Linked DNA regions of Homo sapiens: regions 1 and 2 are each linked to region 3. The links are contacts of gene promoters, found by promoter capture Hi-C in human tissues and cell types (Jung and others, 2019). All regions are on one chromosome and are shown on one strand. The core of a region is centred on a gene start or on the middle of the fragment in contact, and the rest is flanking DNA. Distances in the headings are between cores, read along the strand shown. Region 1 overlaps ITPR1 (inositol 1,4,5-trisphosphate receptor type 1). Region 2 overlaps ITPR1 (inositol 1,4,5-trisphosphate receptor type 1). Region 3 holds the start of SETMAR (SET and mariner transposase domain methyltransferase).

Region 1 (3,347 bases), core at 56-2,555, 310 kb after region 3:
TTTATATATGCTGGCTGAATGAAGAATTTTTAAAACAATGGTAGCTCGTGGATTGTCTTTTTGGTCAATGAGATGGTTTTGAAGAGTTCAGATTCTGAAAGAGAAGGGACTATGTTTAATTGCTGCAACTCCAGCCAGAGTGTTGCCTGGGGTGTGGGGTAATAAGAAAGAATGAAATAGATTATTTATTGACCTCAAGGACAGGGTGTAGCAGAGATGGGCTGGATGCACGGGAAACTCCTATCTTCTTCCTGGGCACAGCTAAACTTCATTTCTTAGCTTGTCTGCATCATGGTGGGGTCTTGTGATTTCATTATCACTGAAGACATGTGAGTGCGAGTGTTGCGTTGCCTCCAGGCCAAAGCAGTGAAGAGTCGGTGTGCCTTCTCATCACTCTCTTCCCTACAGCGTCCTTCTGCTTGTGGACGTAGTGAGATCAGAGAACCTATGTGAGAATTTCTTTGGAATGTGTGCCCTATAGCAGAATGGCTGGATTACATGTTATAGGTTATACATATGTACTTACTTTGACTTATACCAGTTGCCACTCACAGTAGTGGCCCCAGTGTGAGCATTCATCAGCAGTGTAGGAAGATTTCTCTGTCCCCATTGATACTTGGCATTTTCCAGTGTCTTAGTCTATTTGTGCTGGTATAACAGGATACCACAGACTGGATAATTTATAATGAGCAGAAACTTGTTGGCTCACAGTTCTGGAGGCTGGGAAGTCCAATGTCAAGGTGCCAGCAGGTTTTGGTGTCTGGTGATGGCCTGGTCTCTGCTCTCAAGATGGTATTTCAAATACTGCATCCTGTGGAGGGGAGGATGGCTGTTCTTCATAGGGCAGAAGGACAAAAGAGCCAAGAGAGAGACCTGCCCAACCCCAAAAGCTCTTGTGTTGAGGCATTAAGCCCACTCATGATAGTGAAGCCCTCTAATCACCTCTTCAAGGCTCCACATCCCAATACCATTACATTGACAATTAAATGTCAGCATGAGTTTTGGAGGAGACAAACATTCAAATCATAAGATCCAGATTTTGTTGTTTCTTGTCAGTCTGTAGTTGTGAAAAACTGAACACCAATTGAGTACCAAAAGGTGGTTAAAAAAATTGAAATATTGGCTGGGCTTGGTGGCACATGCCTATAATCCCAGCACTTTGGGAGGCCAAGGTGGATAAATCGCTTGAGCACAGGCATTTAAGACCAGCCTGGGCAACATGGCGAAACCTTATTTCTATTAAAAAATGCAAAAAAAAAAAAGGCTTACAGGCTTACACCTGTAGTCCCAACTCCCTGAGAGGTTGAGGTGGGAGGATCACCTGAGTCTTGGAGGTTGAGGCTGCAGTGAGCAATGATGGTGCCACTGAACTCCAGCCTGGGCAACAAAGTGAGACCGTGCGTATCTCAAAAAAAAAAAAAAAAGTTTTATTTGATATATGCACATCCTTTAAAAAGTCAAATATAGGGTGTTGAGGAGGTGGGGGGTAATTAACTGCTTAATAGGTACAGAGTTTCCTTTTGGGGATGATGAAATGTTTTGGAACTAGATAAAGACGATGGTTTTACAACATTGTGACTGTAGTAAATGCCACTGAATTGGTCACTTTAAAATGGTTAATTTTATATTATGTGAATTTCACCACAAAAAAGTCAAATACTGATAAACATAACAGTATGACACCTCACGCCTTCTCACTTTCCAGAGGCAACAATTTCAAATATTTTAACATTTTCTTCTGATATTTACCACTGTGTTTCTAGATGATGTGTGTCTCTTGATGTCTGTAGATGAATGTATTTTAAATAACATTTGTCAACTTACTGTTATTGTTAGCTTTGTGACACTTCTCTGTTCCTCCTCCATCCTCCCACTAGAGTTATGTCCCAGTTTTCTGGCTAAACTAATATTCAGTCTTAATATTTTTATGACTATGTAAATATTGTTCGCTAATGAGCCAAAGACATATTGGAATTTTCATATGCAACCTTCCCCTAGAGTTAGTGATTGTCTTATTTTTCTTTATTTGCATAGCTCTTTTGTAGCGTTTACCGAGTCTTCCCTCTCTCCAATTCCTCAGCATGTTTTCCATGTGCCGGATCCATCGGATGATCTGACCCTCCTGTTCCTCACCACCGTCCTCTATCCCTGGAGCACTTTGCCTCTGCTCCAGGTTGTAGCAGTGACATGCCCTACATGGTGTCACTGTGGGACTTTCTTTCTCACATCTGTCTGTGGGATGGATGACTAGCATTAAGCATATTAAGCATACTGTCTCGACTATAGAACAAGGGTTGGCATTTGAGCTGGGCCAGGGCAACCTCTTTGATAAACAACCACACAACTATTTAAAAACTGTTCTCTCCATTTTTTGGTGGAGTACAACCTCCAGCAGCTTCCTGATTTTAGACTTGACTTTATTGTACTTTCATACCTTGTTGTTATTTCGATACAGTTCAGAATTCTAGATTGAGAATTCTTTTTAGTCAGTGTTTTTAAGATACTGCTGTGTTATATTTGAGCTTCCAGGGTTGCTGTGAGATGTCTGATGTTATTCTTATTCCTCTTCTTTTCTTTGAGCCTTCTTTTTTCTTGCTGGAAGCCTTAAGGATCTTCTCCTTGTCCCATTAGTCTGAAATTTTGCAATGACATGTATGGGTCTGTATTTTCTTATGCTGGGGAATTACTGGGTTCTTTCAACCTGGGGAGTCATCTCCAGTTCTAGGATATTATCTTGTATATTTCTTTGATTGTTTCCATACCTTCAGTTTCTTTTCCTGAATTTCCTCTTGTATTGGACCTATGGATTGTTCTGTAAGTTACTTTCCTTTCTTATTCTTTCTTTTGCCCCCTTTCCTTCCTTTCCTTTCCTCCTTTCTTCTTTCCTTACCTACCTCTCTCCTCACTCCTCCCTCTCTCCTTTCCTCTCCTTCTGCCCCTTCTCCAACTTCCATCCCCTTCTGCCGCCCTTTCCCCCTTCCCCTGCCCTTTCCCCTTCCCCCTTCCCCTGCCCTCCCCTGCTCTCCTCTGCCCTCCCCTGCTCTCCTCTGCTCTCCCCTGCTCTCCTCTGCTCTCCCCTGCTCTCCTCTGCTCTCCCCTGCTCTCCTCTGCTCTCCCCTGCTCTCCTCTGCTCTCCCCTGCTCTCCTCTGCTCTCCCCTGCTCTCCTCTGCCCTCCCCTCCTCTCTTCTGCCCTCCCCTGCTCTCCTCTGCCCTCCCCTGCTCTCCTCTGCCCTCCCCTCCCCTCCTCTCCCCTCTCCCCTCTCCTTCTCTCTTTTCTCTTTTTCCTCTTCCCCTTCCATTTCTCTTTGTTTTTTGTTTCTACTTTCTGTAGTACATTAAAACATTT
Region 2 (3,238 bases), core at 667-3,166, 380 kb after region 3:
TGTGGAATATGTGGTTAATGTCATCTGGGTTAGTCACTCTGCATAGCTTTGCAATATAATGTTCTGGGAGATTTGGGGTTAACTCAACAGCTTTACCCTGCAAAACTTATGGATGAGTTCACCAGCAGCATGTTTGCAGACCTTCCTGCATCTGAAGTGGTATGTTCTAACTTTTCAGGTGCTCTTGACTTTGAACACATTGAAGAACAAGCAGAAGGCATCTTTGGAGGAAGGAAAGTATATTTTCAGTTACTGTTTTGTAGGGAAGGCTGCTCTTCCAGAGCTCTCAGAGGCCTTCCCTTTATTATGTTAGTAAATATTTAGTCTCTGGGCTTAGGTTGTTTTGGTGCTATCTTTGGAACTGTTAGTACTCAAGTCAGAGTTAACTTGGTTGGCTTGATTGGGAGGAGAGAGAGAGTGAGAGAGAGAGAGAGAGAAAGTGTGTGTGTGTGTGTGTGTGTGTGTGTGTGTGTCCCACCTAGGACAGAAAGGATTTAAGGAGATTTCTCAAAATACCTACATTACAAGATTATTTTTACATAGTGAGGAAATGCAATCAAAAGAAGAATAGAAAGAGAGAGGGGCTCAAAACAGAGTGAAGTTAGTAAGATCATGTCCTGCTGCTGCTGCTGGGCTACAATTTTATCCCTGAGCTCCTTACAGGCTATGCAACAAAGAAAGCAAAATCTGGTCTTTCATTGTTCCTAATATTAATGTATGAACCCCTTTAAAAAAAAACCGCACTGGTCAATTTTGACTTAAGACATTATTATAATTATGGAACTCTTATACCTCCAAGTATAAAATTTGGTATAAACACCATATGCACATAGTTCTTATAATTAGCACACTTGGTTTGATTATTGCTTTATAACATATTACTCCAAAAAACTTAAGGATTCAAACCACCACCATTTTATTAATACTTCTTACAGTCCTGTGGCTTGATTAAGCTGGATGGTTCTTCTGCTGGTGGTCACTGTTGGGTCTGTCATACTGTAGTGAGGTGGTAACTGGGGCTGGCACCTCCAAGTTGGATTATTCACATTTCTGGCACTATAGCAGAGATGCCTGCAAGGCCAGAACTTCTTTCTCTCTCTGTCCATGTGGATAGCTTGGGCTTCTTTACAGCACGGTGGCTGACTCAAAAAGCAAATGTTCTAAGAGGACAAGCCAACAGTATGCAAGTGCTAATTGGGCCTCTGCTTGCATTGCATCTCCTAATATCTTATTGTTCAAGCAAATCCCATGGCCAAGCTCATTGTCAGTGTGGGAGGGGACTACATAAGGGTTTGAACACTCTGTTGGGGCCCACCAGTGTTAATAGTCTACCTCAATGCTTAATATAAAACCTGTGAAATTTGAATTAGCAACATTATGTACTATGATGGAAGATGTTTTTCTGAAACTTAAACATGGTATTGTGAGTTTAGCATAATACAGGTTCCATGTGCTGTGTGATCACTCAGCTCTCCCGCCATTTTCCTCATAGTGAACAGCATTGAAACCTTCACACCTTTTTGGAATACATAGCATGAATACAGTATTTATAAGTCTTCTCTGTGCTTTTCTTATTAGCCAGCAACCAGGAAGTTTCCACCATTTGTCATTCATTTGACTCTAAACCCAATATAGGTGCAGACCCAATAATTGACTAGCAGTGCTCAGTTATGGAGTAGTCTGCCATTTGATCTAGGATATGCTTATTAATATTTAAATATAGTCAGGCATGGTAGTGCATTCCTATAGTCCCAGCTACTCAGTATGCTAAGGCAGGAGGATCATTTGAGCATAGGAGTTTGAATTCAGCCTGGGCAACATAGCAAGACCTCATCTCTAAAAACTAAATACATAAACTAATAACTTAGGAGAAACACATCCTCTTGCAGTTCTCAGACCACAGACGAAGCCCAGCAGAAGAACACCCTATGTAGATGTTGAGAATCTAATGCTAGTCTTGTCACTTTGGCTTAAAATTTGACTTATCTTTTAATATGACATCTTCCTTGTCCCCTCACCTCATAATATAGTTGAAGATGAAGCAAGGCTGTATTGTTAAAGGAGCTAATGAAAAGTGAAATTGCATGTCTGGAGATCACAGTGCTAGAAATGCAACTAGGTTAGGTGCATCTGGGCCCAAGGGGCGTGAGAGGAGGCATTTGTCATTCATTTGGCCTTTCCCCACCTTGTGCTCCTTTAGTGAGGAGAACACCCCACTGGACTTGGATGACCACGGCGGCAGAACCTTTCTCCGTGTCCTGCTCCACTTGACGATGCATGACTACCCACCCCTGGTGTCAGGGGCCCTGCAGCTCCTCTTCCGGCACTTCAGCCAGAGGCAGGAGGTGCTCCAGGCCTTCAAACAGGTAGCTCAGGTCACCCACGTGTGTGTTGTCTGTCCAAGAAGCTGTTGTGTGCACCTAACGGATTGCGTTCATTAAGGTTCAACTGCTGGTTACCAGCCAAGATGTGGACAACTACAAACAGATCAAACAAGACTTGGATCAACTGAGGTCCATCGTGGAAAAGTCAGAGCTTTGGGTGTACAAAGGGCAGGGCCCCGATGAGACTATGGATGGTGCATCTGGAGAAAATGAACATAAGAAAACGGAGGTGAGTGAAACACAAGTTATGCTGCCAAAGTGGATGGATGGGCTTCTCGAAACTAGGGAGCATCCTCTTCTGGTTTTAGGTATAAATGTGATAGGATTTATTTTCAAGAGATCTGCTTGTTAAGTCACCAAGATCACAAGCTGTTTGCCTAGGAAATAAGCTACGAATCAAAGTTTAGCTATGTCTCCTGTGCAGCCTTGGACCATGTAGAAGAGACTGCGATATTGAGTGAATTAGCACCAGGTTTCCCTTACAGACCCACTTGGGAATTGACCTGTTCTCTAGGCATGGCCCAGCCCACTACTATCCCTTCCCAAGGAAACCCATAGCAAGTAGGTAGATGACTGGGGCATAAGCCCAGCATGACTATTGTAAAACAGTATAGAACTCCCTTTCTTTCCTAAAGGTCGATGCTAACTGTAAAAAACTGACAGTAGCCCAAGAGTTGTACAGATCACACTTGTGTTCACTTTGGTTTCTAGGAGGGAAATAACAAGCCACAAAAGCATGAAAGCACCAGCAGCTACAACTACAGAGTGGTCAAAGAGGTAAGCTCCTCCCCCACCACCATTTTTCCTTTCTTTATGAATTCTCTAAGGAGCTTTAGTTTGTGATAGTCAAGTTG
Region 3 (3,020 bases), core at 501-3,000:
CCACGTCCTTAGCTATATGAGTCTAGTGAAGTGAAGGAATACAGAGTAACTGGTTTGTTGCTTTAGTGGCTCTGTAGATCACAAATTATTTTCCCAGTTAACTTTAAAGAAGAAAAAGCAAGACTGGCAGAAGAAGTCAATTCAGATTATTTTGAGTTTGAGGAGCCTGTAGGACAGAAAACAGAAATGCTCAATCATTAGCTGAATATGCGTAACTGGATTTGAGGAGAAACGTCTGATCTGGGTTGGAGACTGGTGACCTAATCCTTTATATTTGAAGCCATGGGAGTGGATGTTATTAATGAGAAAGTTCAGGGAAGGGGAGCAAAGAAAAAGGTCAAGGGCAGAACCCTGAATCACACCCACTTTTCAGAAACAGTCAGGCAGGAAAACAACAAGAGGATACTAACAAGGAAAGGTCTGCAAGATGGAAACACATTTAGGCCAATGGGACCTCAGAAGCTGCAAGGTCAGAAGGGTTTGTGAACCCAAAATTATCTGAGACAGGTCTCAATTTAGAAAGTTTATTTTCCCAAGCTTAAGAATGCGCCCCCAACATAGCCTCAGGCAGTCCTGATGACATGTGCCCAAGGTGGTTGGGATACAGCTTACTCTCACACATTTTAGGGAGACATAATACATCAATCAATACATGTAAGATTGGTTGGATCTGGAAAGGCAGACAACGAGAAGCGGGTGAGGGGTGGCTTCCAGGTCATAGGTAGATTTAAAGATTTTCTGATTGGCAACTGGTTATTATCTAAAGACCTAAAATCAATAGAAACGAATGTCTGGGTTGCAATAAGAGGTTGTGGATACCAAATTTGATCGTGGAGATGAAGCCTCCAAGAGGTAAATTTCAGAGAACAGATTGTAAATGTTTCTTATCAGACTTAAGGTGTGTGTTGATGTTGATGCTGGCTGGCTTTTCCTGAATTCCAAAAGGAAGAAGGGCATAATGAGGCATGTTGGACCCCCCTTCCCATCATGGCCTGAACCACTTTCTCAGGTTAACCTTGGCAGAGAGGAGGGGTCCCTTCAGATGGTTTGGAGGATTGGAATTTTATTTTTGGTTTACAGTTTCAAGGAGAAGCAGGACAATCATGTCAGAGAGCTTCAGTGAGGTTGAAAATGCTCCACCGGATTCAGCAGTCTTGAGGCTATCAGAATCCTTTGGCAGGGCAGGGGTTTGGAGGGGTGAGGGTAGAGGGATGGAGAGGAGGGAAAAGGACAGGCAAAGGGGCACGGATACCTCCATCAGGGAGTGAGCATGCCCCCACACAAATTCCTTAAGGCACCCTGTGAGGCTATCGCCTTGGCACAAACCCTATCACATGTCAGTCAACTTCCCGGCAAGCCGCAGACCTTTAGAAACCTTGGTGTGCGTTTCCCCGCTCGGTTTAGAACGCACCCCTGCCTCCACTCCACAAACGTGCAGTGAGCCCTCAAAAACCTGGACAAATGACCTCACCTCGAAAGCCCCCTCTCTGATGCTCCCAGGAAAAACTAAAGCACCTCACTTTGTTTCGTCCGTACCTTACATGGTTTTGTAATTATCTGTGGTGCCTCTGGCTGAAATCAAAACGGGAGCCAGACCCAAAAAGTCAAGGAAGGGAAGCGCCTTCCAGGCCACTCCTGAGAAGAAACGAACTACAATTCCCATGAGGCGGTGGGGCCACGGGACCACAAGTCCCAGCATCCACCGCGCGGCCCAGGACTGTCAGGGTAGTGGGCGTTGCGTGAGGCGGGTAAATGTTCGCGGAAGCGGCAAAGACGACACGGCCTTGTGGGATGGCGGAGTTTAAGGAGAAGCCTGAGGCCCCGACTGAGCAGCTGGATGTCGCGTGCGGCCAGGAAAACTTGCCGGTGGGCGCGTGGCCCCCGGGGGCCGCGCCGGCGCCCTTCCAGGTAGGGGCGGGGCCAGGCGGCGCGGGAGGCGGGCGCGCGGCTCCCCCACGTGGTCTCCTCAAGCCGCCTCGCTGGGACGGCCTCCCAGTCGCGACCTTTTGTCTTCTCTTACAGCGCACCCGTTGGTGCGCGGGAATAGGTGTGCATGCCCCGGCCTGGGCCTTTTTCTGTTGACCCACGGCATCACCTTAGCAAGGGTGTTGTCCTTTTCAGTCCATTCCCTGAAGCGCAGAACCGGAGGCCTTGTGAGAACCTGGCTTTTTGTCCAGTCCTGTCCTCAGAACTCAAGGAGGCATCACGGGGGGAGTCATTTACCTCCCTGGTCTCAGGTGTCTCTCACAGGTAGGATAAGCCGTGGGGCCTATTAATGGATCGCAGCCGGTGTCGTGCATAAAAACAGCCCCTCGAGTCAGCCTTAGCTGTGGTCTCCCTCACGCTGTGGGCTCTTGGGCGAGTGTAAATTAGCTGTGGCTCAGCCTTAGAGTCTTCCAGCGTACAGTGGAACAGTACCTCTCTTCCGGAGTGCTTTGAAAATGGCAAGGAAAATACACTTTCCGGTTTGCTGTAAGAACTCAGTAAATGTTTGCTTCTATTAACTACCTCAAAGCCCTTTCTACTCTCCTTTTTCTTTTTGAGACTGAGTCTCGCTCTGTCGCCCAGGCTGGAGTGCACTGGCGCGATCTCGGCCCACCGCAACCTCCACCTCCCGGGTTCAAGCGATTCTCCTGCCTCAGCCTCCCGAGTAGCTGGGATTACAGGCATGGGCCACCACGCCCGGCTAATTTTTGTATTTTTAGTAGAGACAGGGTTTCTCCATGTTGGTCAGGCTGGTCTCGAACTCCCAACCTCAGGTGATCCGCCCGCCTCGGCCTCCCAAAATGCTGGGATTACAGGCATGAGCCACGCTCCCAGCCTCTACTGACTTTCTTATCCCTCCGACCTTGGCCTGAGCGTTACCCAAGGAATAAGGAATGACCAAAGATTTTGAAGTGGAAAGAGCGCTGGACGTGGAAGTTGGAGAGTATGGTTCGGAGCTTAGACATCTTAGCTACTTCCCAGAGCCTGAGTTTCTTCATCTGCAAAATGAAAATAATAATTTAAAAATGCATAGC

The links. The method cuts DNA at HindIII sites, captures the fragments that hold promoters and counts their contacts. A contact is called where the count stands out against the background at its distance.
Region 1: a fragment that was not itself captured here is called in contact with the fragment with the promoter of SETMAR in region 3 in 1 of the 25 tissues and cell types used here (heart left ventricle).
Region 2: a contact is called between a fragment that was not itself captured here and the fragment with the promoter of SETMAR in region 3, in 1 of the 25 tissues and cell types used here (H1 embryonic stem cells).

Annotation. Positions count from the first base shown.
Region 1 is chr3:4,616,581-4,619,927 of GRCh38, forward strand. The region is part of intron 4 of ITPR1 (inositol 1,4,5-trisphosphate receptor type 1); the gene reads left to right. Among named protein-coding and RNA genes, the nearest start is that of ITPR1, 120 kb to the left of the region's middle. The HindIII fragment of the contact is 5,753 bases long and covers 1-3,347 here.
Region 2 is chr3:4,681,186-4,684,423 of GRCh38, forward strand. It overlaps ITPR1 (inositol 1,4,5-trisphosphate receptor type 1), which reads left to right. Exons shown (of 62, transcript NM_001378452.1): 26 at 179-233; 27 at 2,201-2,366; 28 at 2,443-2,613; 29 at 3,096-3,161. Among named protein-coding and RNA genes, the nearest start is that of EGOT, 69 kb to the right of the region's middle. The HindIII fragment of the contact is 4,756 bases long and covers 1-3,238 here.
Region 3 is chr3:4,301,619-4,304,638 of GRCh38, forward strand. SETMAR (SET and mariner transposase domain methyltransferase) reads left to right here and starts at 1,751. Exons shown (of 3, transcript NM_006515.4): 1 at 1,751-1,908. The coding sequence starts at 1,753. It also overlaps a transcript of SUMF1 not described here. RefSeq lists enhancers at 1,348-2,090, 2,119-2,188 and a silencer at 1,689-2,028. The HindIII fragment of the contact is 5,892 bases long and covers 1-3,020 here.